6 separate regions of the Homo sapiens genome follow, and all the other regions are linked to region 1. The links are contacts of gene promoters, found by promoter capture Hi-C in blood cells and fetal thymus (Javierre and others, 2016). All regions are on one chromosome and are shown on one strand. Each heading gives the region's core, a stretch centred on a gene start or on the middle of the fragment in contact. The rest is flanking DNA. Distances are from core to core; before and after follow the strand shown. Region 1 holds the start of CRYBG3 (crystallin beta-gamma domain containing 3). Region 2 overlaps ST3GAL6 (ST3 beta-galactoside alpha-2,3-sialyltransferase 6). Region 3 holds the start of ST3GAL6 (ST3 beta-galactoside alpha-2,3-sialyltransferase 6). Region 4 has its middle 20 kb from the start of CPOX. Region 5 has its middle 22 kb from the start of GPR15. Region 6 holds the start of OR5K4 (olfactory receptor family 5 subfamily K member 4).

Region 1 (5,126 bases), core at 1,601-4,100:
ATGGTTTACATCAACAAGAAAAAATGTTTTGTGTTTACAGTTATAAAAATTATTTTGGGTGGCTGAGACGGGTGGATTACCTGAGGTCAGGAGTTCGAGACCAGCCTGACCAATATGGTCAAACCCCGTCTCTACTGAAAATACAAAAATTAGCTGGGCATGGTGGTGGGCGCCTGTAGTCCCAGCCACTCTGGAGGCTGAGACAGGAGAATTGCTTGAACCCAGGAGGCGGAGGTTTCAGTGAGTTGAAATTGCACCACTGCACCCCAGCCAAGGTGACAGCGCCAGACTCTGTCTCAAAAAAAAAATTAAATATACTGCATTATTGAATATATTATTGCTATGAGAGAAATTACATCAATCGGAGGCAATCCTTCCTGTTGAAACTTTGTCTTCTGATGCCTGGAATAATTTTCCACATGACACCTGATGCTGCTTTACCTTTCAAATCTTGTCTCACCTCTATTACCCACATATTTTCAGTGTCAGAGACCACAGAATATATCTCCTCTGGCTCTGCATCTTGGGTGTAATACTTGGTGAGCTGCGCTACAAACAAATTGGAATTTAAGAAATAACTATACTTTGGAGAGGCTGGAAACCACATAAATATATTCCACTAAGTCCAAACTAAATATATTCCCAACTGAAATTCCCTAGCAGATTCCCAAATGCTCTTGATAACTCTAAGTGGAAAAGAAAATCTAAGTGGACATCTAAGTGGAAAAAAAAAGAGATTGTGGTCTTAATCACATTAAAACATTTACTTTTGTAAATTTGATAAAACTGGCCATGGATCCCATTGCTGAGTTCACACTGGAAGAGACTGTGCCAGCAGGGAGCCAAGAAACTTGAGCCTCATCGGCTTCACTGTAGATGTGCTTCTACTGCAGGCACTCACTAAACGTCGGGGAATAACTGGATCAGTGAATTAATGACACTGTGCTAAATTAGTATCTCTAAGATCCTTACAGCTCTAAAATTTGACATTTTTACAGGCTTCCTAATGCAATCTTAGAATTTAGTATTTAGAAATTTGTTCATATGAGTTCAGGTTATAACAATGTAGGACATATAGAAAACTAATAAGTGCTCAGAAAGCAAATGAAGGAAAATTCAATGGTCATTGTTTTATGACTTTAAGCTATTTTGTCATAGACGCAATTTGTCTTAGTGTAAACATGGCATTATTTGTATTTACCATTCACTTAAGTGCTTTGCTGTGCTACCGAGTGGAGATCAGAGTATTGTTAGATATATTATTAGTTAAAACCATAATTCATTAATTAAATCCTATTGACTCCCCCCCATTTTTATTCCAAGAAAAACTTCCTGAACGAAGTACCCTCTGGGTAGGCACTGGGGCCTGGTTTGATCACAGAACAAGTCAGGGACAAATGTGATAGTCATTCAATAATACGTTGGGAAGACAAATTATCATTTGGGCCTTTTAGCTGGAAGAAACAGTTTGCTTTATTACTCTCTTTGGGCTTTTTGGTAAGTGGGTCTTCAGTGGAGATTCTCTTATAAAATAATAAAGCTAGAATTGGGAACTTGTCTTATTCTAGTCTATTATCTTAGTCTTTTTCTATTTTCTCAGACTAGGCTCACAGAGAAATAGGAAAAATTTACCAAAGAGTAAAAAAGGATTAATCTTGAGGGATAGACTGAGATGAACCCGATTGATGGAAATCGGGCTGACTGAACTTTAATGGGTTAAATCCTGCCAGAACAAATGAGAATGAGTGTCTTGGCTCTATTGCAGTTAGTAGGAGCTGGAGGGCTTCTGGGAGGCAGCGTGGGGAGGCAGGGAGGCTCAATAGCCTCCAGCAGGTGCTGAAAGGACTTGGGGCTTATAGGTATGCAATCTACTTATGAGCAACCTTCTCCTCCAGCACCCGAAAGCCAGAGGGGAGATTACTCCAAGGCTCCCCTCTGCTGTGGACATTTCATTTTTATCTCATTTACTTGTATACATTTTTTAATGAACAAAAGCCATATCACTTCCTTGACGTCTACTCCAGGGGCAGCTTGCCTTCAAACAAAAACAAAACACTTGGGGTGAATGGGCCTCTCAGTATCTCCTGTACTAGCTGCTATAGGGTATGAAAAACCAAGAAAAATCCATACCACTGTACTTAGACTTAAAACAAGTCTTAAGCACCCTTTGGTTCCCAGATTTCAGTGGCATCTGTGTAACGACTGCAAAATATGTTGCAGCATTGACAAGCTTGAAATCATACTTTTTGATCAGTGCCGTTTTTGAAAGAGTTCGCAGGGAAGTATGGCGTGTGAAAAGTCTGAAGCACAGCGCGGTTAGGAAAAGTCACACCACAGAAAGCCAGCAGAACGCGCCGGGAGGTGGTGACCGCCTGACAGGTACCCCCTTCTCCCTCCCGCCGCCCGGTTCTGTGCTAACGCGACTTTCGCCCTCAGGGTTGGAGCTGTATTTGCGGTAGCTGTTTCTTAGCTCCCAGCAAGTCCGGGGCGCCCCGGTACTGCAGTTTGCCAAGTGTTTTCACAAACCTTAGTTCATAAACCTCTTTCAAAAGCCCGAAGAAAACCGTTTCTGTGCTCTGACTGTAGAATAGAAAACACAACGGTCACAGAAAGTAATTGAAGGCAAAGCCCAACAGGCTGCAGCCTGAACTTGTTTGAGCCGTAAGCCCGAGCCTAGCGTCGCACGCTGGGCGACTCCCCTCAGGCTCTCAGGCCGGCGCCTTCGGGGGACCACGTAGCGCCCCAGCGGTGGCGGCTGCGCCCGGCTCAGGGCGGTGCCGCGGCCACTGGCTCCTCCTCGGGGTGGGGCGGGCCGCGCCGGGCGAGGGCGGGAGGAGGAGCAGCCGCAGCGGCGTGAGGAGCTGCCGCGCGAGGAGCGCGTCGCGTCCGCACTTCTCCTGCCCGAGAGAGACTGAGCCGCGCTGGCAGCTCGCGTCGAGTCGGTCTGCCCTAGCCGCATCCCGCGGCGCCCGGTCGGGCTCCGGGCACCAGGCAACACCTAGGCCGTTCCCTTCAGACAGCCCCGGGCCAGCGGCCCCCTCGGGAAATGTCCAGCGGCCGCAGAAGGGGCAGCGCCCCCTGGCACAGCTTCTCCCGGTTCTTCGCTCCCCGAAGTCCTTCCCGGGACAAGGAAGAGGAAGAGGAGGAGAGGCCGGGGACGAGCCCGCCTCCAGCTCCAGGCCGGTCCGCTGCCAGGTGGGAGTCGAGGAGGGGGTCGCGGGGGGGCCCTGCACATATTCGCGGGATGAAGGCTCCCGGCCTGACCGCCGGCAGCGGGCCGCTCTTGGGCCAGGCTGCAGTTCGCTCGCCACTTTCTGTTCTCCTTCCTCCATTGCTAAAGTTTCCTCCTCCTTGCCCCGTTCCCGTGCCGCACTACTCGCCTCTCCTCTGCAGGTTAAATCGGGGTGAAGTTCTTGCCCGGCAGCCGGACGCATATCCCCCGATCCCCGCCTGGCTCCGCGCTCTTCCTTTCCCACTTTCCCCTGCCCGGACGTGATTGGGTTCCCGTTCCACACACGCTCTACTCTCCAAGTTCTGTGGCAAAAGCGATTTCCCCGGCGTCCCGCCTGCAGTAATGGGAAACACTTGTGAGCCGAGCGGAGCCGTCGGCCAGGGGAATTGGGGGCGCGATCCCAGCACCACTTGTGTGGGAGGAGATCGGGGCAAAAGTGGAAAAGGTAAAGCTTTGGGGCGTCACCCCCTCAGCTGGTATTTTTGCCATCTTATTTAAATTTTCTCAAAATGATTTTTAAAAGGAATTGTGATAATGCGTTCCCAAGACTTTCACCAAAATGGACTGGACATGTAAATGACGCCACCCTTCTTTATTTCTCATCTCTCCTAGAAACATCTGCCTCAAGTTCCCAAACAGATTCTGGAAATCAGGTTTCCAGCTGTCTTGGTTTCAGTAATCAAAATGTACCCTTTCTCTGTAATATTTTTATCTTTCCTTCACTTTCCCATGTTCAAAAATCAAAAAATTTTAGACATGCCTCATTTAAATGCCTGTTTCTGAGTCTTTTCATCCCCCCGAAGAAAGAGGGGTTAAGTAAAACGCAGCTCGCTTTCTTAAACTTATGAGAGGCTTACACTGTCTTCTCCCGAGATTGCACTAGAATGACCATTGTCATTGGAAGGACACACTCCAGAAAACCGTGTTTACTTCGGACTCAAGATTTCCTGGTGGGCTTAAAAAAAATGGATAGGAAACAGAACTGAGAGTGAGCCAATTCCATTAGTATTCAGATTTTGTGATGTGATTTTAGTCGTTTGTGTGTTCCTCGGTTTCCCCGCTTGTGAAACATTTTCATTATGACCGTCTGTTAATAACATGCCACATGTTTCCAAGAAAGCTCCTACGATAATTGAGTGGTTATTCTCCTGGGACGTTTCAGCTATTATTGCTCTGACTGTTGAGAGTTTAAAATTCAAAGTTACACAGAAGTTAAAAATAGTTTTTAAGTCTGACAGATCTCATCCAGGGTGTCAGCTAGTTCTGTTGGTGTGGGCAGACAGCCTGTGGTGCCTGCCACCGCCGTAACAGCACTAACAGTCTTGGATAATATGAACGCAGTCTGCAAGGAAATCCCAAGTAGGCGCAGCAAAAGTTGGGAACTTGAGAGTCAGTGTTAGAAAGGAGTAAGCAGGTCAAATTCAGGCTCATGTCAGTAATGGCCTGAAATCCTGCTTGCCTCTCTGCCCTATTTTGGCTTTTTAAGGCACTTCTCAATTCTAATTTCTTTACTGACTGGAGCTGACCCCTCCAGCAACTAGTTCCTTGTTCACCTACCACTTCTCTATTCTCATCATCTCCAGATTGGCACAAATTATGGCTTTTCAACGATGAAGATTTTAATTGTGCTTATATCAACGCTAATTTTGTTCTCATCTTTTTTGGAACTTGCCAGATGTTAGGGGGATAGCAGATGACCCTTTATGTGGGTGTTTTACTGTTTTAAATGAGCTTAAATCTTTCATTTCAAGGGCATAAACAAACACAAAGCCTTTATTGAAAGTTTAATAAAACAAATGGAACCGCTTTATAGTACTGAATGTCCCAGTAACACAACACCCTGATGTTAACAAGATTGGAAACAGAATTGCAATTTGTCACTGTGATCTTATTT
Region 2 (5,126 bases), core at 1,372-3,871, 970 kb after region 1:
TTCAAAGAGGAGTTGAGAAATCAGATGGCAGTTAGAGATGGTTATGCAATCAGGGTTTTTTTTTTGTTTGTTTTCTTCTTTTGAAAAGATTGGAGGCACTATAGTACATTGGTTAACTGGTGGAAATGAGAAAGAGATTGGGGTGGTAAAAGAGAGGGGAAGGGGGTTCAGAACACAAGTGTGGTTAATGTTTCATAATGGAAAGGAGAGCCAGGATTGTGGTTACAACTACCAAGAGTCCCTCTGATGTAGTGAGGGGAAAATACGGACCTTTCTATCTCTATTTTTTTAGTGAAAGGTCAAGATAAGGTCATCATCTGGGATAAGTGTGTGTGTGTGTGTGTGTGTGTGTGTGTTAGGAGTAGCTATGAATAGTTTAAAGAATGGCAAAGTTAGCATACTGAGGCAATACATTAGGATGGTTTGGCAGCTTTGGGGGTTTTGTGGGGTTACAAGCTGCCTAGGGTTTCTGCATGGTGAGGTCACCTTATTTTCTGTTTACTATCCATTTTGAGGAAGCTGTGATAATTTACCTACAAAACAATTTTGAAGCAATCACAGGTTTCTCTACCCATAATTGTCTAAATCTGATAATTTAGAGCCACAGGAAACCCTTGCAGGAAAATATCATGGGTACAACATTTTGAAAGTCATCTCAAGTGTTAATAAGTCTGTTCGTCTTATATTACGTAGAGTCAGTAGCAAAGGGCAAAACAGTATTTATCTCTTTGGGGACACTGTTTTGGAAACAAAGCATTTCTTTTTTTATAGCATGGCTTCATAATGTGTGCATAAATAGTGCATGTCCAACCTTGGCTTTCAGCATACACAAACCCAACAGTAGATCCTTTGTGGTTCTTTAGTTTACTCTAGCAATAGACATTCATTTGGTTGTGCTTGAATATAATATAGCAGATTTATATTGTTAACCTTATTTCAGAGTACAACAATTTTGATGGGTCTTTAAACCAACTTAAATGTGATTCTTCTTACCTGTCAGTCACACACATCCATGTGCTACATGACTGTGTGGCTTTGAGCAAGTAATTTTCTCTCCAGGGGTTTGTCCTCCAAGTTCTCTTTCAACTCTGGTATCCTGTGGCTCTGTGTTCCCACTTTTTTAAATTTAGTCTTCAGTTCCCCTGGAGGTAAGACTGAATTATCATTGGCTCCACAATTAATTTTCAAATACAAATGAACATTTCTGCCTTTGATCAACCAACTATTTCATGAAAAGGAATGATCTCCTTGGCCATTATGTGTGAAAGATTGATCTATTGCTTTGTGGCTTCAGAGCACAGGATAAAAGGCTGATGTTTGTCCAACTCTGAAACCTCTGAGAACTGTGATGGGAATGGCAGATACTGCACTTGGTCTACATATCTTGTATGTTTTACTATCCACAGAATGAATAATGGTCCTGTTTTAGGACATGAAGAAGAAGTTGGGAGAAGGACAACCTTCCGACTTTTTTATCCAGAATCTGTTTTTTCAGATCCTATTCACAATGACCCTAATACGACAGTGATTCTCACTGCTTTTAAGCCACATGATTTAAGGTGGCTGTTGGAATTGTTGATGGGTGACAAAATAGTAAGTAGGCAAAATTGTTCTGCCTTCAGATTACCTTTAGTGCTTTTTTTCCTTAAAAAACAGACAGCCACACTGTTCTATTCTCTATATTTTTTACTTTCAGAACACTAATGGTTTTTGGAAGAAACCAGCCTTAAACCTGATTTATAAACCTTATCAAATCCGAATATTAGATCCTTTCATTATCAGAACAGCAGCTTATGAACTGCTTCATTTTCCAAAAGTGTTTCCCAAAAATCAGGTATGTATTTATCTCTGCATGGTTTCAAACTACAGATCTGGCTGAGGTAGGATAGAGGGTCCTGGGAACTCTCAGAAACTGTATGAGAACCACAGCTCATGAGATGATTTCTGAGGGCCATCTCTGAGTTAGTAAAAGTAGTTATCTATGGATATTATCTTTATGTTTTTCATTTATGTTGCAAGGAAATGTAATTTTAAGTTGGGTTTTTTTCCTGCCCTTGTAGGGCCTTCCTGGGGTCTCTTTGTGCATGCCGAAACAATTTATCTTTCATAACTCTGTCTTCAGTGTTCTGCAGTGAGGAGAGTCTGACTGGGTGGGCTGACGGGCAGGCTTGTGCTCAGAGTAGCTGGCCTGGCTTCAGGCCAAGTGCATGGCTTTGCAGGCTAAAAAGAAGTGTCTGAGATGCTCTGATAAAAATATCACAGGAAAGCCAGAGGAAAGGTGAGGAAGGACAATAAAGTAGTCCAGAAACATTTCTGTGGTCAGAGGAAATGTTGGCATTAAATTCTCAAGAAATGGTAGCTACAGCAATATTGAAAGAGTTCTTGAAACTTCAAAATGAAATCTCATTGACTTTCACTCCTGTTTGCCTTCTTTCCCTAGAAAACAATACTCTAGACCCATACAGTGGCAGAGATATTTTTTACTGGAAGCTTGAGTAACTGTATAACATGACACCTTGGTTGAAATGAGTTTTTCACCCCTTTTTAAAGTAGGGAAAAATCCAAAGAAATAAATATACATCATGTATTTTCATGATGTATATTTAGCATGATAAGAATTGTGATTAAGAAATTCAAAAGTGTTATATGCTGAAAACAAATGTTAGTGTTGCACACTGAAATAAAGGAATATTAAAAATCAAAAAGGAAGTCACCAGTCTATTCTCTTCCCTCTACAACCCATGTAACCTCTCAAGCTTTTCTACCTTTTATGTGCTTCCAGACTATTTGCTATGCATTCATAAACACATAATCTTTTTGTTTGTTCAGTATAATTATGATTATACCATAGGTATTGTTGTTATTTTCTTTTTTCTCTTTATTTAACTCTTCCCCTATTTATAGACACTCAGATATATCCAACATTTTCTTCTCTTTAAATAATATAGCAGTACATGTGTTTATAGGGGTTTTCTGCCCATTTGTCGGATTTCTGTAGGATGGACTTCTGGAAGTGGAATGCTCAAGTCAAAAAGCATACATGTTTTAAATTTAAACCTGACTTCCTAGTAATTTTGAGGGTAAAGGACAGCTTCTGAATGTGTGTTTTGTGAGTTTTCACTTCCTATATTCCTAAGTGAAGTATGATCAGGTATATCTCTTGCTTCTTCATTTTAGGTAATATCTTTAATTCCAAAAGCACAGGAAGACCCTGAGCATACTTAGTGATGACATTAGAACTAGCTGTAGCTACATCAAAGTCCCAGTAGGACATGGTGTCCCAGAAATCAAATGCTGTATTTCAAGAGAAGTCAGCCATGTCAGATGCTGTCCAGAGGTTGAATGTAAATAATAAACCCTGGTTTTAGAAACGTGGAGGTCATATTGGTGATATATATTAACAAGAAAGAAGGAAAAAGCCTGCTTGAATTGGGTTGAAGAGAACCTGGGACATGAGCAAGCAGCAACAAATCTTTAGTGGACTTTTTGCTAGAACAAGGATCGTAGAAATGAAGCAATAGTTGGAAGATGATATAGGATCGAAGAAGCGTGTTTTATTTTTGGTCTGTGTATATGCTGAAGGGAATGGTTCAGCAGAAAGAAACACTGATGATGAGGGGAGAAAGTAGTTAAGTACAGAAGTAAAATTGTTGAGAAGTGATATGGGATAAAATATACACTAGTGAAAAGTTGCTGAAGTTACATCTCATCCATTATAAGAGGAATAAGCACTGCAAATGTGAGTAAAGATACAGGTAAGATGGTAGATTTGGAGTTGGGATGATGAAGCCACTCTTTTGACTGCTTTTGTTTCCTTAAAAAAATAAAGATTAACTAGTCAAATTAGGAAGAAGACTAGGGCTGTTGCAGGATACAAAGTTATAAATTCTCATCTTGGAGAGTAGGAATGGAAATTTACTAGTCAAACGTAACTGGATTGCTAGGCAATACTTACTGCCTGTTTGAGAGTTGGGTCATAAATTCAACATTCAACCAGGTAAACGTATTTTTCTCTTGCCCTATTCTGTTGCTGGGGTGTGGGTACAGGGTGACTGCAGTGCTTATTCCTCTTATAAGAGTTTGTCAGGTGGTAATATAGGTTCTGTGGGTGATGGCTGCAGAAGAGCTGGTCTATATAAAGGAATGGTTATAAAGACGGATGAAGGACTCTTAAGATGTGAAGAAAGGAAGTAGAAGACATGAAAAGGGGCAAGGAGAAGGAAAAAGCAATGGGATCAATGAGGCTGAATGACTCCTAGGTTACAATGGTACATAGGATAAAGAAAATTTTATGCTGAAGGCAGTTAATGCTTTCGGACAAGTTTGCCTCCTGGAATTGATTTGGTTGTGCTTCTTCGATTTTTTTTTCTTTTCCTCAAAATCATAGTAAGTCATATGTAATTTCAATGGGAACTATAAGAAACACTTTATTGAAAGTGTTATGTAAAAAGCTTAAGATGTATCTTGTTTTTCGCTTTGAAGGCCATCTCAGTGAGAATTACAATTTCTGAAAGCCAAGACCCTCTTGTCAAATATCTATCACACTGGTTTTCAAGATATATGTAAGATAAGGAAAGAGGATGCTTGGTTTTTCTTTCTAAAAGTATAATGGTGCAGCTGAGATTGTGATATTGCTATGTATGCATTTGGAATATTTATTTTCTAGTCAGATACTGTTACAATTTATCATTGAAGTACTAGATTAGCCTTTCCCTAGAGTTAGTTTAAATGGTGAGTATAAAATATAGCTATTCGAAGGCGAATTTATATGAAGTCTTTTATCATGATTCCATCCGTTTGTGAATGAAGCTGTCCTTATATTTCATACACGTGTTCAAAATTCCCAGGCTTTGCTTTTGCCATAAGGAGCCTGACTCATCATGTTTTTGTGTTTTTTAAAACAATACAGCAACATTCTCTTCCTTAAGCCTCACAGTATTCTTTCATTGGATAGTTGTCCTCTGGGCTAATACCACAGCTATATTTTATTTTAAAGACTTCCTAAGATTTCAATCACAGTTTATATATTTTTTAGAGTTAAGGTATATATGCATACTCTTTGGGGCTTGAGCCTTATAATGAGAGTTTAGTTATTTCTCTCCTTATTAAATGTTTAGAAATCCCTG
Region 3 (5,126 bases), core at 1,578-4,077, 940 kb after region 1:
TCATCCTTATGTGAAAAAGGGCTTAGTACTGTGCTGGCCATTTAGTAAGTGGTTAATAAACTGTGCTATCATTTACATGATCATCGCTGCCAGAGGTTGTAGATCCTTGGGATATGAATGAAGCTGATCTCACGCATTTGGACTACCTAATTAGTAATAAGGACCAAACCTAAAAGAGAGGTAGTAAATGAATTGAGGAGGACTGAGGCCTTTCCATTCATCACTGTGGAGTCCTGTACATTAAGGCTCAGGTCATATGGAGATGGCTGGGTCTGTGAGGCTTAGGCTTAGGGGACCTATGAGGCTGGACCAAAAAAAATCTAGACATTAATGCATGGCTAGAGTTGGAGGTTCTGTTGTAGATTTGCTCATGTAGGCATGTGACTGCAGATTATAATCACAAATTGAGTAATAAGTACAAAGAGGAAGGAAGGCAGGATGTGAAATCTGTTGGCCATGTTCCACACAGTCTGGAGTGTATGTCAGTGTGAGCTGAAGACCAGCAGAGACTAGGATGGATGACGGCCTGTCCAGGGGCTGAATGGACACAGGTGTCAGCAGGGCCACCTGGTAAAGGTATGGAGGTGAGCCATGAACAAGGTTACCTGCTTAAGGGGAAGGTTGTGGCTTAAATCTAGATGCTGCTGAGATATTAGACATTAGGTGCCCACAGGCTGTGTGGAGGTAGAAGGGGGATGTGCTTCTCTTATTTGCACAAAGATGTGAGTTACTGAGGAGTATTATTGAACAGCAGCATGTTGGGTTTGAGAAGAGACCTAGTAGTAGAAAGAGTAGTATGTCTGCCACTGAGGAAGCAGGGAACAGAAGGGTGCCTCACCCCAGGGCAGATGGGGACATGGTTTAGGATCCTAGTGACTAAAAAAAAAAAAAAAAAAATGGAAGTTTGGCTGCAGAGCTGCTAGGGTGACTAGGAAAGAGAAGAATGCAGACGTTGGAAAAGTGTGGTATAGTTTAAGCACCCAGCAGCAGGAACCCAGGTCCAGTGGATGAGATGACCAGGATCACTACTGGATCCACAGGAACCTGACCCAACTGTTAAGCTGCTAGTCGAGGGCTCCTCAGACTCTCTTTCTGTGGGTCAGAATCAGTCCCAGTGCCTGGGGTGGCTGGGCTTGCAGATGGGCATTAGGAAGCACCTGCTTCCAGACTGAAACAGAACTGGGGATGGAGGAGACAGGGAGGTGAGGTTTGTGTGTGCTCAGCATCCGGAATAGAGAACGCCAAGGGTCTTTCTTCCTTGGTGTTGCATATTGACTGAGATACCCACCGGGTTTTTCTATTAGGTTGGTTTTAAATGACAAAAACCACAATTACTTTTGCACTAACCTAATGCTTGATAAGTAGAACAATGTTTCTAGAATTATTGCTGAACATGCTTTTTTCTAGCTGGTTGGAAAAGCAAGCTCCCTTTGGTTTGAGAAAGCATTAGGGGAGTCTAAAAAAAAACCTGACATTTTTTTCAAGTGTTTCTCCGTAGAGTTTGTTTTTATAAACAATGCTAGCATGGTTGGGAGGAGCAGAACTGGGAACAGGGTTGGGAGTAACAGGCTTTTATTTCAGCTGAGTTTGAATCAAAAGTATTATAAGCTTTACCTCCATTTCATCAATTACTAGAATTGATATTGCTTAAGGAGCTTGCAGGATTGCTTAAGTTGGAGAAATGTTCAGTAATGTTTAGTCTGGTAGCAAAAGGAGGGGCCTGTGCTCACTTGTGAAAGCTCACATCTAGGGGGAGGTAGTATAACGCATGGCCTGTGGCCTGATAGAGACAGATTTGAGTCCTCGTTCTGCTACTTGTCAGCTCAACAAAGTCGTTGCTTCTCCCAGAGTTTTGGTTTCCTCCTCTACAAAATAGGAATTGTAAGTCTACCACTTCTTTTGCAAGGTGGTTGTCAGGATGTCATGAGGTAATACACCAAAAGCAATTATCACATGCCTTGGCACAGGCTAAGCACTCATACATCTTAATGCTTCTAATCAGTTGTTATTCATTGAGCATTTACCACGTGCTAGGCATTTAGGGTAAAAAAAAATAATACAAAGCATCTAGTTATGGGATCTGTATCTGTTACAGTCTCTGTATTTCAGAAATTCTTCCATGGTTCTATTGTATTTCTTAGAGCAGTGATTCTCAAAATTTTAGTGTGCATAAGAATCAAATTGGTGGATGCTGTTTAAATGCACATTCCTGAGCCCCAGAGATTCAGATTAAGTAGAGGCTCAGGAGTGTGCATGTTAACAAGTCCCCGCCTGGTGCAGACTCTTGAGCCTGCCCTAGAGTCACCTCCTTTCACCAATATCTGAATTTACCCTTCTAGACTTCAAGATACCAATGGAACACCATTAGGAATTTTCAGATTAGAATTATCTCTTTTAGATTTGCCTTGTGCTTTTTATCTTGAGAGACAGGATAACACCAGGAATGGAACTCTGAGAAAGAAATGATTGAACCATAAATCTATTTCTGTCTTCCTTAAACTGTGTGACCTCAGACAACTCAACCTTATAAACCTTCAGTTTTCCTCATTCATCAAGAAGACAACACCTGCACACCCATCTAACAAGCTTATTTTGAGCCTTAAATGGAGGGATGGACATATAAAAGATTTTTTATGAACTTTGATGCTCCACACAAAATATGCTTTTACTATTAAAGCAAAGTGAAACATTTGTCAAGATTGAGTTTAATTTGGCATATATAGGTTACTTATACATTGGGTTACATATCTTAGTTGGAGAATATGTGAACATTTGTCCTCTGCCAGTGAGTCCTTCTTTCCCTTGCCATCCTCTACCCACATTTTTGTAAAGGATGTTTTAGGGACCCTGATTTTAGGAGCATCTGCAGCCACAAAGCTGGCATTGGTCCTGTTTAATGTCAAGATCTTGAAAACTCTTTTTTTTGGTAATCAAAGCTATATTAAAGGGCCTTATGTCTTTTTAAAAGCAGATAACCTCTTAAATTCTGTTTTTTTCTTTGAATGTTTTTGCTCAAAGCAAAATGCCCTTCCACTTATACAATATAATTAGATAATTGGTTTATTTGTGGAAGCTTTTTCCTGTGAGCAAGCAGAGGAACCATGTTTATCACAAGGATATCCTGGCTGGCCCGTGTCCTTTGCAACTTGAATACTGAAGCTGTGAATTGTACATGAAATACGATAGTGCCTTAACTTCCTAAATGTTTTTCAGGTGGCGTGTGCAGTAGCTGTTCAAGAGTGGGTTCGTTTTATTGTTTGAAAACAGAGCATTCTCTCACACTTCTTTGTTTTTAATTAGACCACATATTAGTGAATGAAAAACAACAAAACAATAACACAAGTCTCGCTTACCCATACCTCCGTGTTCTGTAGAATAATACATAAATTGCCCAAAGAGTATGTTTTGGAGAATACATAGGAATTTTGACTTGTAAATACTGACTTCTTTCCCTAGACCTTCATATACTGTCTTAGATGTAAATACATTAAAAAATTTTGCTGATACTGGTAAGTTTTATCCTTGTTGGATCTTTGCATAAATGTCATTCTTTTTTTTTTTTTTTTTTTTTTTTTTTTTTTTGGGAAAGGGAGTCTCACTCTGTCGCCCAGGCTGGAGTGCAGTGGCGTGATCTCGGCTCACTGCAACCTCTGCCTCTTGGGTTCAAGCAATTCTCTGCCTTAGCCTCCTGAATGGGTGGGATTGCAGGTGCCTGCCATCACGCCCGGCTAATTTTTTTGCATTTTTAGTAGAGACGGTGTTTCACCATCTTGGCCAGGTTGGTATTGAACTCCTGACCTCGTGATCCACCTGCCTCAGCCTCCCAAAGTGCTGGGATTACAGGCATGAGCCACTGCGCCCAGCCAAATGAAGTTATTCTTAGTGGAGCCTTAAATGTTTGATTTGAGCATTTAATAAGATGTTCCTCACTATTTTGGCCCATGGTAAACTGCCTTCCAGGACCATCTAATAACCCAAAGAGGTAGATGGTGTGTTCTCACTTGTAAACACATGAGGACCCTCAGGTCAGAAGAGGTAGACTGATTTACCTTAGGGTCCCCACACCATATGTAGAGTTAGGCTGTGAATCTTGTCTTCTGATTTCCAACCAGTGTTGACTCTTCACAGGGATTATGTATACCTAATTAGAAGTATGTGTGAACTAAAGTTTGCTCATTAACTTGCTTATTTATTTGCTTTCTCCTGACATAGTTTTCATTTCTAACTAATTTAGAATAGTGGCATGTGGGGGTGGTGACTGCATTAATAGCAGCAAGAACCAACAGCTGACAGCAAGGGAGGAGTGAAAAGCAACTCAACCAGATAATCATGCCAGTTTAGGACTGCTTAGCAAATAGCCCCACACACCCATTAGCTGCAGAGGGTTTCAACTGTAAGAAAGCCCAGAACAATTATATTTGTTGAGCTGACCCCATATTATCAAGAAAAGTTTAAATTATGTTTAGTATATTCTACTTATGAAGGCAAAGGGAGTGGTTTATTTTAAGATTTCCATTTGAACATATTTACCATTAAAAAGAAGGCAATGCCATATTATTTGGAAATTTATTCAACCAGACTCCCAGGTTCTATACTGCATCGCCATGATTGAGGTTAATAGGCATGGATAGGAGTGAAAGGAGTGGCACATGCAGTTGTTTAGACGAACTAGAAACTTGATAAGGGAGACAGAGAAGCAGTGTACCTGTTTAAAGTCACAGGCGTTGAAATAGGTCTATTATGGAACCATATGTTAAATTTGTCTTTTACATTTAATTACATAAGACAATGGAAACTTTTCCTTTTTTCCTTTGAAGCAAAAGAGAAAACCAAACATGTTTTATAGGTTTTTAAAATATATTCTATAAAGGCTTTTTTTGCATTTACATTTTAGAGAGGATTGTGTCAAGGTTTTTGTCTGTCTGCAAATGTGTAATGAATAATATTGTCAATTTAATACAAAACAAGCAAGTAGCTGAATATACCTGAACTGTGATGTGGAAAAATCAAATAGGTGGATCTAAAAGTATATAAAAATTGAGGATGAGGGAAATGTTTTTTCAGTAGCTTTTTTCCTCAGTTAAAAATTAGAAAATGACTTGTAAAAATTATAATGTATAACATTT
Region 4 (5,126 bases), core at 1,590-4,089, 750 kb after region 1:
GATTTTAATTAAATACTTGATATACACATTAATATTTATAAAATATGAGGATACTAAGAAATATCCTATTAATATATTGAAATGTTGAAATGGCCACTTGTATATCAGAATCCAGCTGTAGAACACTACTAAGAACTTTGAAGCCATCTGTGAATCCTGCCTCAGTTCCATTCTCCATTCACCTGAATTTGGTATTTGTCATTAGCTTTTCATTAGTTTTATCACTTATGTGTATCTTTAAATAGCCTATGGCCTAGCTTTGCATCTTTTGAATTTTGTACAAATGGAACCACATTGCATGTATTGTTCTGCAGGTTATTTTATCTTCACTCAATGTCTGTGATATTCATCCATATTAATTTTCCCAGTTCTATAATTTATATACACATAACATGAGTCTAGGGCATTTCATTTTATTAATATACCAGAATTTATTTATCTATTCTTCCATTTATTAAACTTGGGTTGCTTCTAGATTTTATCATTACAATTTTACCTCTTCTTTTCTAATCTTTGTATTTCTAATTCTTTCTCTTGTCTAAACTTATTAGCTTAGCATCTCTAATACAATATTGAATAATAGTAGTGATACTGAAGATCCTTATCTTGTTTCTGCCTGCTAATTTCTCTTTTTCCTTTTCTTCAGTTTGCTTGGTTGTCTTGTAAAATTTCTTGATTGAGAAATAGTTTATTTTCATTTTTCCTTCTTTATCAATATAAATATTTAAGGCTTTAAGAAAACGCTGTGGCCGGGCGCGGTGGCTCACGCCTGTAATCCCAGCACTTTGGGAGGCCGAGGCGGGCGGATCACGAGGTCAGGAGATCGAGACCATCCCGGCTAAAACGGTGAAACCCCGTCTCTACTAAAAATACAAAAAATTAGCCGGGCGTAGTGGCGGGCGCCTGTAGTCCCAGCTACTTGGGAGGCTGAGGCAGGAGAATGGCGTGAACCCGGGAGGCGGAGCTTGCAGTGAGCCGAGATCCCGCCACTGCACTCCAGCCTGGGCGACAGAGCGAGACTCCGTCTCAAAAAAAAAAAGAAAAAAGAAAAAAAAGAAAACGCTGTATTAGTTATGTCTCATAGGGTGTAGTAGGTATTGTTTATATTATCAGTATTTCCTAGATATGAGTAATTTTGGTTTATATTTCCTCTTTGATCCAAGACTGGGCTAAGAAAAAAAGCTGTTGTAATTTACAAGATGTTGGAGTTTTTAGTTTTTTATTTGCTTGTTCATTTTTGTCTTGTTGTATTATAGAGAATATTGTCAGTATAGTTTCTGTTTTTTAAAATTTCTTATGGAGTTTGTAATTTAGAAAAGAATTTTGTCAATTTTTATGAATGTCCCTAGGTACTTGGAAGGGTTGTCTCTATTTTCAGGGTTCAGAGTTCAAAATATATATAAGTTAGAGACACTTTGTTACTCATGTAATTTACATCTTCTACATCTTTAATGTGCTTCCCCTGACTTGCTCTGTCAGGGACTGAGTGAAATAATTCAACAACTACAAGTGTGCATCAGTCTAGCTCCTGGATTTTTTTCTCCTTGTGAATATAGTTATGTACTTTGGTCCATTGATATTTATAGCGTTTTACATTCACATTTTAAGTACTCTTCTTTTTCTTATGTTATGCTTTTAGATGTGAATTCCATAATGGCTGATATGAGTATCATAACTCCTTCATTTTTTTAAGTTTGTACTTGCCTGGTATAGCTATCATTTTTTACTTTCTGAAGTATTTTGTCTTAAAGGTATCTGTTTTTTATAGCATCTATTTCTTTATGGTCCCACTTGAAATATTTTAACAGTATGTTATGAAACTTTTATTTATTGATATGTATGCCATTTTTTATTGATTGATAGGATGGGTATGTTTGCTATAGCTTTATCATATGGTTCTTGTTATTTTCTAAATTTGTAGTTTAAAGTCTCTCACTTAAGTTTGGTTTATATTTCTAGTCTACTGATTACCTTTACTATACTGTATTTAACATCTTCATTCTCCATTTCTTTAGACAGTGTCCATTAGTTTTCTCTAAAACCAATGGGAAATTAGCATCCTTTCACTTCCTGCCCTGTAACTCCGGCCAGAGGTAAGAAGCCAAGCTTTATGGTCATTATATTCTTTCTTTGGTTTATCAAGACATTCTGCTTTCTTCTCCACTTTCATTTTTAGTCCATCAAATTGTAAAAACGTATACACTATTTGAATAAGCAATTTTTCAATTACAAGCTGCTGATTTTTTTACACCCAAAATGTGTGTATTTGTGAAATACCCACATAATTAAATTAATGTATTGTAGACATAATAAAATTACACACAAACAGAGCTTTTGAAATGATAAAAATGTTTTCCTACCTGTCTTCACTGAATCACACACACCCCCTGGGGTATAAACTCTAAATTGAATACACACATTTAGATGAATAGTCCTCAATCTTTTTAGAATTATGTTTCCTCTGAGAGTCAAATTAACATTATTCATTCTCAGACAAAAATGTTCACATTTTCTCAGGCAACTCGCAGTTCAGAGATGGCCAAGGAACTCAGATGCTAAGCATTTAGACATTCAACATTACTGGAATTGTAGACATTGCCAACTTCAGAATCTCCCAATCATAAAGTGAGACATGAAACACAGTGGAGACATTTGACAAGACATAAACAGCATAGTCAAATTAGCCATGCTTGATTAAATATGTAATAACTCCTTTAGATAATCTGTCCAACAACAGCATAGTTCAACAAGAGTCAGATTTCAAATAATTTTCTCATTTCCCTCCTTCTTTGCCTCTCCTCTTTTTCTGTCCTGTTCTCCACCTCTTCTCTCTCGTTTCTCCTTCTTCCTCCCAGCACTTTTTCATTCTCCCTCCTTCCTTGCTTTTCTTTACTTTCTCCTCCTCCACTCCCTGCCAAAAAAAAACAAACAAAAAACCCCCTGCAGATTAGATTTTCTGCTCCACCTACTGGTTCTTTCAAGAATTTCATATTCTTGAGAAACTGAAGACACAACCTGGTATGTTAATGGAGATAATTTTATCATCTAAATTTTAGTATCTGAGAAGACCTTGATAATGTATAAACTAGGATCATTTTTAAGTGTTAACTTAAATCCCAATTTATTAAACATATTAACATAGAGTATAGATCATGTTAACATCTTCTATTTGGAAACAACCATTGTAATATTTGAGCCTTTATTACAATCACATCCCACTTGTCTCTTTAAATTTCCTTCCTCCTATTCTATTTGTTCAGATAGCTGCTTCTAGCTGTCTTTCCTGATACCTCATCCCGTGTTCATTTCTCTGCCCCCAGTTCGGTCTGTGATGCTCTTTTATTACACTGCATGCACTTCCTTGGGTGGCTTACCTTCTTCCACTTCTTCAATTATCACTTTTACAAAATTGGTAGACTTGTGTTTCTAGACTGAGCTCTCCTGAGTTCACATCTCTAAATACTGGTACAGGTAGCTTGCAAGCATTTCAAGCACCTCAAAACTGCTCTTCTCGTTTTTGTTAATGACATTTAATCTGCTTCAATTATCTATTACTGTTTAGCAAACCACTCCAAGCTTAATGACATATAAACAGCAACCATTTTATCACATTCACAGATTCTGTGAGTCAGGGATTCTGATAGGGCACAGCAACGATGGCTTGTCTTTGTTCCACACACGAGGGCACGTCAGCTGAAGACTGCCTCTTGCTGTTTGGGGAGATACCATATCTCCCACACATTACTAAGATGAAGAGTCGGGGTGGGTGGCAGAGAGGTAAAGATGAAAGTAGGTCCTTATTTTTGCTTCTTAGGAATACATTATTTTTAAGCACCACACTCACGTTGAATAGCACATAAGATCAAGTACACATTAAAAAACAAAAAGTACTTTCAGCAGAATTTGTATTAAGGTAGTTTTTTGGTTTTTGGTTTTTTTTGAGACAGAGTTTCGCGCCGTCGCGCAGGCTGGAGTGCAGTGGCACGATCTTGGCTCACTGCACCCCCTGCCTCCCAGGTTCAAGCGATTCTCCTGCCTCAGCCTCCTGAGCTGGGATTACAGGCGCCCATCACCACGCCTGGCTAATTTTTGTATTTTTAGTAGAGATGGGGTTTCACCATGTTGGCCAGGCTGGTCTTGAACTGCTGACCTCAGGTGATCCACCCACCTCGGCCTCCCAAAGTGCTGGGATTAGAGGCATGAACCACCGTGCCCAGCCTGTATTCAGGTAGTATTAATTTAAATGGTCTTTGAGGACATCTGAACTAGTTATTTTTAATAAACTACAGTTTGAACTACAAGAAATTGTGGATTTGTATATTATACTAATGGTTAGAAGAATGTCAAGCAGCAGGTGTGGAACAGATTCTAAAAGCCTGTCTCCCTCATCAAGTCAGAAAATGGAAGCAATCTTGAACCGATCTGAGCATAGATAAATTGCTATAAAGACTTTTATTTATGAAAGCATTATTCACTTGCTATTACATAAGAGGCATTCAGCCAGTACAGCTTTGTGAACTTTGATACCTCTCAACCATCTCATAAGAAAACACATCCATGACAGAGTCAGTGTTGCAACTCTAAATGACTGCAAAGTCAATTTACTTTCCTAAGTGGCTGTATTTGCATCAACCTATTGAAACCATGATGGCTTGGATTATGACAAGTTTTATGTTCAAACGCATTTTGAAATATGAAGGGATTAACAGTAAAAGAATTATTGAAAATACTGTTTGAATGAGCTTAAGATCTAGAATAGAGCTGGCTACACTGATCGGAAGAGGAAATGCAGTTCAACTACCTTGCTCTGCTGGTATATGTTAGTGAATATCCAGTATAAAACCACTTGTAGGCCGGGCACCGTGGCTCATGCCTGTAATCCCAGCACTTTGGGAGGCCGAGGCAGGTGGATTACCTGAGGCAGGATTTCAAGACCAGCCTGGCCAACATAGTGAAACCTTGTCTCTACTAAAAAAATACAAAAAATTAGCCGGGTGTGCTGGCTCATGCCTGTAATCCCAGCACTTTGGGAGGCTGAGGTGGGTGGATCACCTGAGGTCAGGATTTCAAGACCAGCCTGGCCAACATGGTGAAACCTTGTCTCTACTAAAAAAATACAAAAAATT
Region 5 (5,126 bases), core at 1,223-3,722, 730 kb after region 1:
GGTCCACCAGCAGAGGGACTATACACCAGTTACTACCCCCCATCACCAACCCTTGGTTCACAGGCAACAATGAAGCATCTTTGCCCCCATGCAAAGTGGATTCCTGGCCTGATCATCTTTGCCCCCATGCAACATTGCCAAAGCATCTTTGTCCCCACGCAACAGCGAATTCCTGGCCTGACCATCAAAGTCCTAATGAACCAACTTTTGTATTTAGACTTTTCAGGAGAGAATCAACTTGTCTAGAGTGCTCTGGCATACTGCAAACACACTTAAGCTCTTTAAGAGTAGTCCCACGGAAGCCCCTCCCAGCTTGCTGGGCTTGGTGTAGGAGACAGTAACTTTCCCAAGTGGAAAAAGCTGAGGCCCCATAGCACAGCTACTAGTCACTTTTAAGGAAAGCTCACAAAAACCCTCTCTTTATTCTCTGACGGGATCCAAGAGTTTGGAATCCATTCCCAGATATTATGCTTGTACCATCTGCATATAGTGACTTAGCAACAACTTACTTGAGATTTTTGCATTTATTTTATCTTTATGCCTTGTTGAAATTTCAATTTTAACATTCTGTTATATAGCTTTCTTTTCTGGGAAAATTCTCACAACTTTTAATATAGCATGACTAAAGCAAACCTGAAGGAGAGCTGAACTGCCTTCCTAGACTGGCTGTCTCATGCATGACCTCTACTCCTATTTGCCGAAAATATCCTCCCTATAACAAAATAATGGCAGGAATTTTAGGGGACTGGATTATTGTAAGATTCCTGGTGAAACCACAGTCCTCAAACCATACCTTGAAAAAATTCCTGCAGGAGTTAAAAACATTTCCCTTTATTGTATTCTTCTAATCTCCCATCTCATTCTACAAAACTCCTCCACAGAGGCCTTTGCTCCTCAGGCTTCTTATCTAAGTAGTGCCACGTGTCAAGTCCAAGGTCCCTGAATAGAAAGATTAGACTGGGTAAAACAGGAGTATGGCTTTCATGGGATCTGGGACCTATAATAACCTCTAACTATGAAGTTTAGGTGAGAGGCTTCCTCATCCGGCTACAAAGACCTCAGTTTCTTAGGTGTGAAAGGAGGAAGTTGAACTACGTAGTTTCAAATGACCCCTCCAACCTGAAAAACAGATGACTTTGATTCTAAATTCTTCAGGGAGTAGGACATGGATGCTGCAACAGTCTTATACCTTAGGTTAATTCTAAGAATTAAAAGAACCTTCACTGAAAGGAGAGTGACACTGACGAAGGTAGAAAGTTTTCGTGGTAGCTTCCTAAGGAAAATGTGGCAGAATTAAATGATCCTACTTGGAAATAGAGAAGTAAGATTTGTAACTACAACAGACCAAGCCATTCCCAGGCAGTGGATCTCACTGGGCAAGCAGAGACCTTGGCGTCTCTCACTGTACCTGGGCCACTTTCCATAGTCCATGCTCTGCCAGTGTTACTGAAACACCAAGGGTTTGGTCTAGGTCCTGCTGCTCACAGCACAGAAAGTCAATCACTGAGATAATGGTTATTGCCAAGGAAGAAGATTTTAATCAAGTGCTATAGCCTAGGAGATGGGAGGTCAGTCTCATATTCATCTCCCTGACTGACTAAAATTAGGACTTTATATAGCAGGAAAGAAGTGTAACTATGTACGGAAAAACAGGAACCTGGGAGGGATAAGGGTGCAATCATGATGAATGAGGGGCCCTGAGTCTCAGTGTCTGGATGCTATGATCTGGTGAGTTTCAGTTCTTTCATACTTTTTGAGAGGGCTAGGGGTCCTATCCTCAGAAAGAAACACAGATAAAACAAATGTAAGTTTCAAGCTTTAAGAAGAGAAGGGACAATTTCTGTTTATCCAAAATAACTGTCTATGAAACTATTGGGTGAGTTTCACCAAGTTTGAGTCCAAAGCCTATCTCAAGTCAGGTAATCCATTAATGGAAATGGAATCTCTCTCTCTCTCGCTCTCTCTCTCTCTAATTGTACAAAACTCTTAGATTACACTAAAAGTGCCTCATATTCTTTCGTGGTATTAGGTGATGTATCAGGATCCCAGGAGGAAACAGACAGCTTGCCAAAATTAATCAAAGGGTGCTTTCCAAAGGGGATCACAAGGCATAGTGCGGTAGCCTGGGGTTTGTAACAACAAAACTTTTATCTATGTCCAAAAAGAAGAAGAAAGAGCTGTTCTAAGCCCCTGAAAGAAGACAGTGTGCTGCCCTCTCCACATTTCTCTAGAGAAGGCTTCCAACTTGAAGCGGCCCCACAGGGAAAGTGCCAAAATAAGTACCCGTGAAGCCAGTAAAAGACATTTTGAAGTCATCCCAGTTCTTGCTAGTTGAAGTACTTTCCAAAGCAATTCTCTTAATGCTTACAGTTCGTTGAAAGTGTATCCTCACTGAGGAGAAGCCAGAGGCAGAAAATTCTTCCGGCAATGCACATGCAAAACAACACTGACTTTCTGATGTGGGTTAGGTGTGAGTACAATCTTAATCTAAAATGACTCCTTAAATATGCTCCTCTACCTGAGATTAAGGTACTGGGGAAAAAAACGTTCTGAAAGTTTGCTACTTGTTATTCTTTCTAATGAAATACAGGAAAAACTTATTTTTCTTTGGATACACTCAGTGTGAATAAAATTAACTCATGGACCAAATTCCTAGATTTAAACTGGAAGGAAGTAAGCTCTAGAGCCCTATCTTAAATTCCCAGCATTGTTTCAGAAGGCCACTGGAGTCAAACTTTCATAGCCTTAGCATAGAGTTGTTTCATCTGAGGACCTTCTCGTGTGTCCTGCGCTGTCCAGTATATTTCTTCATTTAAAAACTTCAGTTAGATCTTTTCTCTTAATTGCATTTTTACCCAAAAGAATAAGCCAAATTCCTGCAAGGTTTAGGAAATATATGTATATGGCAAAGTACTGGACTAGCGAATATATGGCAAAGTACTTCCTCACTTCACACCCATACTCACAACAGATGTGGCTAATCAACTGCTTCCAGTTCCTGGAAATTGTAAAATATGGTAGTGAGTTTCTCTGTCAACAAATTCTCTGTTGGCCAAAGGAAGTAGCTTCTGTGTCCTTCCTCTTTTAGTCCCTTCAGGCCTTTCAAAGTGCTATTAATATATACTATAAAAGCTTTGTTAGGATCTATGTAATAAATCATTACCTCATAGAAATAGATCATTCCCTGTAATTAACCTTTTACCAGCATTACTAATCAATTATGCTTCTCTTTCTTATCTGCTCCTGTTAATCTTGTAACATTCCATATGTTAAGTAGAAATCATAACTAATTAACATTTATCCTTTAGGTAGGCCAGGCTACTTACTAAAAATACTCTGCAAAACAGTTTGTCTTCTTATGGTTTACTGTTTACAACCTGAGCCAGAATCCTTCCACTTCCAAGTAAGACTGGGGTTCAACTGGGGTGGGGAGCACATCAAATGAGGGGGTACATCATTCCCTCCTTGTCTAATGCTTTAAGACTAATCAAATCAAATTCTGTAACACTAAAGTTGGAAAAGAACTCTCTTGATGCTTAAGATAAGTAATTTTTAAGACAATGTAAATACACTTTAACGAAAGGAAAGAAAAAAGGGAAAAAAGACAATGTAATACACTTAGAACAAAAGACTTGTCATACACGATACATAACACAAAAGATTAGCTTCAGGAGAATGTAGATAATTGCATGATGGTAGATTTTTATCTTTCACTCATTTGTTCAACAAACATCAACCATTACCAAGCCAAACACTTGCCAGATACTGTTTTAGGCATTGTATATAGGCTCATCCTAGACTTTAAAAATTGTCTGGAGAGTAACCACCAGGTCGCCATACATAATATCCCTGGATTGGTCTAAAACAGGTAGGATTTGGGTGGATGAATTGTAAATCTGATCCAGTTTGGCATTTCTTATGATCTAATAACAATTCATTGTGTATATTGATTTAAGAAAATATAGAAACATAATACTACCTAATGCAAACTCTTTGATCTGAGTGATAAAGAATTTGTATAAATAGACAAAAATAAACACCCAGACTGAAGTCCTACCTGTTCACTTGATTAAAACTGTATCTCTTTAAAAGATGGATACTTTGGCCAAATAGTTGGCTTTTTCTGTTCTACGTTCTGAGCTACACCAGTTTCTCCAACATCAAAGTTTCCTTTTCCACCACCTTAATTCGCCATCCTGCTGTCCAAAGCTCATAACTTCAGAGCTTCACTTTGTCCCCAGACTTATACACTGAATTCCAGTGAACCAGAAAGAATGCTCATGGAATACAATTAGTGACTAAACAATTCCAAAACGCTATTGGTTTGCTTTCTTTCTAGACGATGTACTTAGAAGAACAATAATAAAATTTCAAAGGGACCAAAATCTTTCTTTCTACTCCTCTCACATGAATCACCACCTCCTTTGCAAACAAGTGATTATTTACAAAGCTTGTTAAAAAAGTAGTTTAGGCTTGCATTTCATTTAGAATTGCTCTATTGCTCCATATTTTGTTTTCCCCTATGATTTAAGAATAGTTTTATTGTACATATCTTTACAAATATTTAAATCAAAGAGAATTACTGTAGTTTAAAAAATAGAAAAACGGGGCCAGGCGTGGTGACTCACGCCTGTAATCCCAGCACTTTGGGAGGCTGAAGCGGGCGGATCACCTAAGGTCGAGAGTTTGAGATCAGCCTGACAAACATGGAGAAACCCCGTCTCTACTAAAAATACAAAATTAGCAGGGCATGGCGGCACATGCCTGTAACCCCAGCTACTCGGGAGGCTGAGGCAGGGGAATCGCTTGAACCCAGGAGGCGGAGGTTGCGGTGAGCCGAGATGGCGCCATTGCACTCCAGCCTGGGCAACAAAAGCGAAACTCCGTCTGAAAAAAAAAAAAAGAAAGAAAAAGAAAAAGAAAAACAACAGAGGAAAAAACACGGCATGGGTTATGAAAACAGTTATCGAAACAAAAGATTATCTCAGGTGAAAAAAGGAAATTGACAGCGCTACGTAAGCAAAAAGATCTCAGATTGTACTTGTTGACCAGGAGGTAACTGGTAATTAGGAAAGTAAACATTTCTGCCCTCATCTACTATGCAAAACTACATTGTCTTTTCATAA
Region 6 (5,126 bases), core at 941-3,440, 530 kb after region 1:
TTTAAAAACCAATGTTTTTATTCTTAATTTCCCTACAAAGAAAAAACATCAGGAGACCAGTCAGCTACTATAAAATGTTTCTCAGTGAACTCAAAATATGAGGACTTAATTTTATTTACTAATTTATTTATATTATAGTATCAAAATGCAGAATATAAATTTTCTAATATACTTCAGTATTTTTATTGTTTTTAAATTTTAGCCACTTAATAATTCTCTTTGTCTCTAAAGTGAAGCCATTATAGAAAGCCATAAGGAGACATAGTAAGTGGATAAGTCTGACCTATTCTTTGTTCAAAAGTACCATAATTTTATCAGCAAATACACAGATAAGGCTGATGATGTCCTTGTACAGTAATTCTGCGATCTATAGGCAAATTAATTTTTGATTAAGTTCAAAAATTATATTTTACATTGGTGAAGAGAAAATGAGATTTTACTCATTATATTCTGAAATATGATCTATATAAAATAATTATTGATAATAAAATCCATTTTTCCACAGTCCACCTGATAAATATTTTCAGTTGATTTTCCATTAGATGTTACTAAAATAATGATAAAGAGCAGCATTTTATACTTTTACAAAGTTTTTTTAAAAATATAATTCTGAAAGATTTTTTAAAAGAGGTATAGACCTAAAATATAAAGGACATTTTATTGTATTCATTTGATTACAAGCCTCTAGTGATAAAACTCCAGAAAACCTCATCATATTATGTGAGTCAATAGAAAAACAAAAGTAAGAAACAGAGAAAACCTAACCAAAATGTTTTCAAAGTAATTCACTGGCCGGGCGAGGTGACTCATGCCTGTAATCCCAGCATTTTGGGAGGCCGAGGCGGGCGGATCGCCTGAGGTCAGGAGTTCGAGACCAGCCTGACCAACATGGTGAAACCCCGTCTCTACTAAAAATACAAAATTAGCCAGGCATGGTGGCTCATGCCTGTAATCCCAGCTACTCGGGAGGCTGAGGCAGGAGAAGTGCTTGAAACTCTGTCTCAAAAAAAAAAAAAATGTGCTTTGAATTAACTATCGTAGGCTCTTCTCCAAAATTGTCTGTTTGGAGTATGCTAAGGCTAAAGACTTTTAGAAACTTCTAAAAGAAAAGAAAGTTAATTTTATTATTCTTTAAAACTCAAATTGTTTCTGTACCTGAAATATTTTAATGTACAGTTGCCAAACTATAAGAACTATATAATAAATTTAGTTGATCATTAAACTCAAATAAATATATAGCCAGTAAAGAGTAGATAATGAGTTTGTAAATTTAAATAAATTTAAAACTCAAGTAAATAAATGGAGAACCTCCATAGAACTCACTGAAAATGAAGACATTACTTTCTATGAGAGATGTTTGAGTGAATACAAAATAGATATTTACCATGAAGAATATTCACATTATGAGTGGAGATTTTGCCACCAAATCTTACAATGTTGGACATGCATGTAAAACTCTTAAAACTAGAGACAGAAAGTATTAGGATAAGTGAGCAATTAAGAGTAATAACTCCTTGGGAAATTTGTCATACCAAGATTGGAATAGTATCTAGAATATGTTGAAATGAACATAAAAATGATATCCAATACAATGATTAAGAACACTCATAGATGTTTCATATTCTTATCCTCTCTAAAAGGATGAGTAGATATCTCATAAAATATGCAATTGGTGACCTTATCTGGAAAGGGTTACTAAGCTAGCAAAAGCATTCTTCAAATCACTGTGTTTCTGTGCAGTTTTTAAAATGTAGACATTTAAAATGCCTTAAGAGTAATTCATTTTAAGCGTCACATTGATCCAATAGGATACGATTTAAAACTTGTTTACTTTTTCCTGGAGGAAAAGATACCATAAGAAAATGTCTTAATTTTGGAAATGGAAAATTATATGTACTGACCACAGATTTTACATCGGCATAGGATAATTCATGCAGATAAAGCTTTCCTGCCCTAGGAATTCACACAGATATTTTCAGACAAGCCCTGGGTACACAATCCATGATACATTTTTTCTCACTTGATTTGACCCACAGTGAGTGTGCTAGTGTTTAGGAGATGGCACAGGATAATTTGAAGAAGACTTTCTTCCCTTTTGTATACAGGGAAATTAGAGGGTGAGAATTAGAAACATTCTGCTTTGGAATCTTACATTTCTTTACAATTTATGTCTCAGAAGAGAAGCCAGGAATGGCTAGGGAAAATCACTCCTTAGCAGCTGAATTCATCCTCATAGGATTTACAAATTATCCAGAGCTGAAGACGCTTCTGTTTGTGGTGTTCTCTGCCATCTATCTGGTCACCATGGTGGGGAATCTTGGTCTGGTGGCATTAATTTATGTAGAGCGTCGTCTTCTCACACCAATGTACATCTTTCTGGGCAACCTGGCTCTGATGGATTCCTGCTGTTCCTGTGCTGTTACCCCCAAGATGTTAGAGAATTTCTTTTCTGAGGATAGAATTATTTCCCTGTATGAATGTATGGCACAATTTTATTTTCTCTGTCTTGCTGAAACCACAGACTGCTTTCTTCTGGCGACAATGGCCTATGACCGCTATGTGGCCATATGCCACCCACTGCAGTACCACACCATGATGTCCAAGACGCTCTGCATTCGGATGACCACAGGGGCCTTCAAAGCTGGAAACCTGCATTCCATGATTCATGTAGGGCTTTTATTAAGGTTAACTTTCTGCAGGTCTAATAAAATTCACCACTTTTTCTGTGATATTCTTCCACTGTATAGACTCTCCTGTACAGATCCTTCTATTAATGAACTAATGATATATATCTTTTCAATACCAATTCAAATCTTTACCATTGCTACTGTCTTGATCTCTTATCTCTGCATCCTTTTGACTGTTTTCAAAATGAAATCCAAGGAGGGAAGAGGTAAAGCATTTTCTACCTGTGCATCCCACTTTCTCTCTGTCTCAATATTTTACATTTGTCTTCTCATGTATATTGGACCATCTGAAGAAGGAGATAAAGATACACCAGTGGCAATATTTTATGCAATAGTAATCCCATTACTAAACCCTTTTATTTATAGTCTGAGAAATAAGGAGGTCATAAATGTTCTTAAAAAAATTATGAGGAATTATAACATTCTTAAACAAACTTGCTCTATAGCAAATTTATTTTTAATTTATTAAAATGCTTTCATAAAGAGGGAACATAGAAAAATTAATATGTGATTTTACACAAAATGTAAGCTTATAAATCATTAGGCTATGTTTGTTTAAAAAATATATCAATGGAATTTCAAAATTGTTTCACAAATCTTTATCCAAATCCCACAACCAGAATGAATCGGGGAAACTCACTGGTAACTGTTATTACTACCTTTCATGACTCTCATGGAATTGTCAGAGAGTATTATCCTAAACCTCAATTAATCAACATAGCATGAAAGTTAAATGTTTAAATGTGTAGAAGAGTCTTCTTTGATTAATGTTTCCTAGTTAATGGAAGACATTATATCCAATCCTATGTAGCGTGTTTGAAACATTTAAAATTTCCTGGCAGAAAAGTGAAATGATAGTTTTCTTTCAGAAAACTGACCTGAGAGACACATGTGGATTACTTTAGAGTGGAAAAGACTAGAAGCAAACTAATTGCAGTAATTTATATTTAAGGTAATGAAGTTTTATTTAGATAAGATTGCAAGAATGAAAAAAAATGAAAAGGAACACACACACACATACACAGACATATACAGACACAGACACACACATACACACATGCAAAGAGGCTCACCTACAAAATATTCTATTTTGCAGAATAATTAATTGTGACTTATAACAAATTGGACAGAGTAGATTAAGGTCTACTTTAGCCAGAAGCATAATTAAGTTCCTTTTCATTCTTGAAGGCATCAACCATGTTATTGGCTATGTATTATATATAACTACAGTTTACATATTAACACTCATTAAACATTTTAAAACATATTAATAATGACATTGTTTTATTTTTGAGTAATGGTAAGCTGTACCAATATTTTATGTGTTTATTGACCATTTTTACTTTTATGAATTGTCATTTTTGTTTTGTCTGTTTTATTTCTTATTTATATCATTGTTTACAGAGAAAAGACATCACAACTATTTGTGGCAAATAATTCTTCTGTGGGTTGATAGTCTTAGTATTTGTTTCTGATATTTATAAATATTTTAATTTAATATACTCATATTTACTTATTTTTTCTATGATCTCTTTCATGCATTTCATCCAGAATTTCTTTTTTAATCCAGTCTACTATTAACCAATATTTCTTTTTCTCCTTTTCTTATTTCTCTTCTTCTCCTTCTCCCTATTTTCCTCCTCCTTCCTTTTTTGATATTTTAAATTTTTGCAACTTGACTCTTGATTCTTCCTGGAATTTATTTAGTATATGGCATATTAAAGATATAACTTTATTTGGCTGTTTCTCTAAAAAATATTTATAAACTAATTTAATTCAAATAAACACTCAGGAGAACTTCTTTGGGAACCTGGCAAAATGAATTTAAAATTTTTTCATATTCTAGATTTTTCTAGAAAATAAAAAAAATACCTTATGTGTTATATATTAAAATATATGATAAAATTCCAATAATGATAACAGTTTGGTTTTAAATCAAGAATCAATAAACAAACCAACAGAACAAATCAGATTGTTCAAAAGTAAACTCTCATATAAAATAAGAAGGGCATCACAAATAACAAGGAAATAAAGGATTGTTCAGTAGCCGTGGGACAACTGGGTAACTATCTCTTCCATTCATGTTAAAATGTATATCTTCCTGTCATTTAGATATATATTTGTAGACAAAATTTGTATTTCCTTCATTTTTCATAGTTTGATTTTTAATATACAGCAACCAACTGGAATTTATTTTATAATGTTATAAAGTGAGAATTAAAATTTGATTTATGGCTAACCAGTAGTCCCAGAAGCATTTATTGACAAACTCTTCTCTAACTGATTTCTTATGTCTCCTTTTTGTACATTTATGCTCATACATTCACATGTACATGCATACACAGAGAGGTCTATTTCTAGCCCGTTTGTACAACAAAAACAAGACGGTTCTAGTTCGTACACTTCTGTCTCAGGAGGGAAGATGGACATTTTAAAAGG

Evidence for each region. The method cuts DNA at HindIII sites, captures the fragments that hold promoters and counts their contacts. A CHiCAGO score of 5 or more calls a contact.
Region 2: a fragment that was not itself captured here is called in contact with the fragment with the promoter of CRYBG3 in region 1 in 1 of 17 cell types (M1 macrophages); the score reaches 5.4 in M1 macrophages.
Region 3: a fragment that was not itself captured here is called in contact with the fragment with the promoter of CRYBG3 in region 1 in 1 of 17 cell types (monocytes); the score reaches 5.4 in monocytes.
Region 4: a fragment that was not itself captured here is called in contact with the fragment with the promoter of CRYBG3 in region 1 in 4 of 17 cell types (activated CD4 T cells, total CD4 T cells, naive CD8 T cells and 1 more); the score reaches 7.0 in activated CD4 T cells.
Region 5: a contact is called between a fragment that was not itself captured here and the fragment with the promoter of CRYBG3 in region 1, in 1 of 17 cell types (activated CD4 T cells). The highest score is 5.9, in activated CD4 T cells.
Region 6: a contact is called between the fragment with the promoter of OR5K4 here and the fragment with the promoter of CRYBG3 in region 1, in 1 of 17 cell types (activated CD4 T cells). The highest score is 6.4, in activated CD4 T cells.

Annotation. Positions count from the first base shown.
Region 1 is chr3:97,819,161-97,824,286 of GRCh38, forward strand. It overlaps CRYBG3 (crystallin beta-gamma domain containing 3), which reads left to right and starts at 2,851. Exons shown (of 22, transcript NM_153605.4): 1 at 2,851-3,195. The coding sequence starts at 3,047. It overlaps LOC101929298 (a long non-coding RNA gene), which reads right to left and starts at 2,616. Exons shown (of 3, transcript XR_427389.3): 1 at 2,527-2,616. RefSeq lists a silencer at 2,628-2,997. The HindIII fragment of the contact is 1,453 bases long and covers 2,229-3,681 here.
Region 2 is chr3:98,786,630-98,791,755 of GRCh38, forward strand. ST3GAL6 (ST3 beta-galactoside alpha-2,3-sialyltransferase 6) reads left to right here. Exons shown (of 10, transcript NM_001323368.2): 7 at 1,407-1,593; 8 at 1,697-1,834. Among named protein-coding and RNA genes, the nearest start is that of ST3GAL6, 26 kb to the left of the region's middle. The HindIII fragment of the contact is 266 bases long and covers 2,489-2,754 here.
Region 3 is chr3:98,762,856-98,767,981 of GRCh38, forward strand. ST3GAL6 (ST3 beta-galactoside alpha-2,3-sialyltransferase 6) reads left to right here and starts at 485. Exons shown (of 10, transcript NM_001323368.2): 1 at 485-584. The HindIII fragment of the contact is 487 bases long and covers 2,585-3,071 here.
Region 4 is chr3:98,570,660-98,575,785 of GRCh38, forward strand. It overlaps a transcript of CPOX not described here. Among named protein-coding and RNA genes, the nearest start is that of CPOX, 20 kb to the right of the region's middle. The HindIII fragment of the contact is 1,470 bases long and covers 2,105-3,574 here.
Region 5 is chr3:98,550,969-98,556,094 of GRCh38, forward strand. No RefSeq gene overlaps it. Among named protein-coding and RNA genes, the nearest start is that of GPR15, 22 kb to the left of the region's middle. RefSeq lists enhancers at 1,138-1,187, 4,815-5,126, 5,066-5,126. The HindIII fragment of the contact is 1,316 bases long and covers 1,815-3,130 here.
Region 6 is chr3:98,351,664-98,356,789 of GRCh38, forward strand. It overlaps OR5K4 (olfactory receptor family 5 subfamily K member 4), which reads left to right and starts at 2,191. Exons shown (of 1, transcript NM_001005517.1): 1 at 2,191-3,156. The coding sequence starts at 2,191. The coding sequence ends at 3,156. The HindIII fragment of the contact is 1,273 bases long and covers 1,942-3,214 here.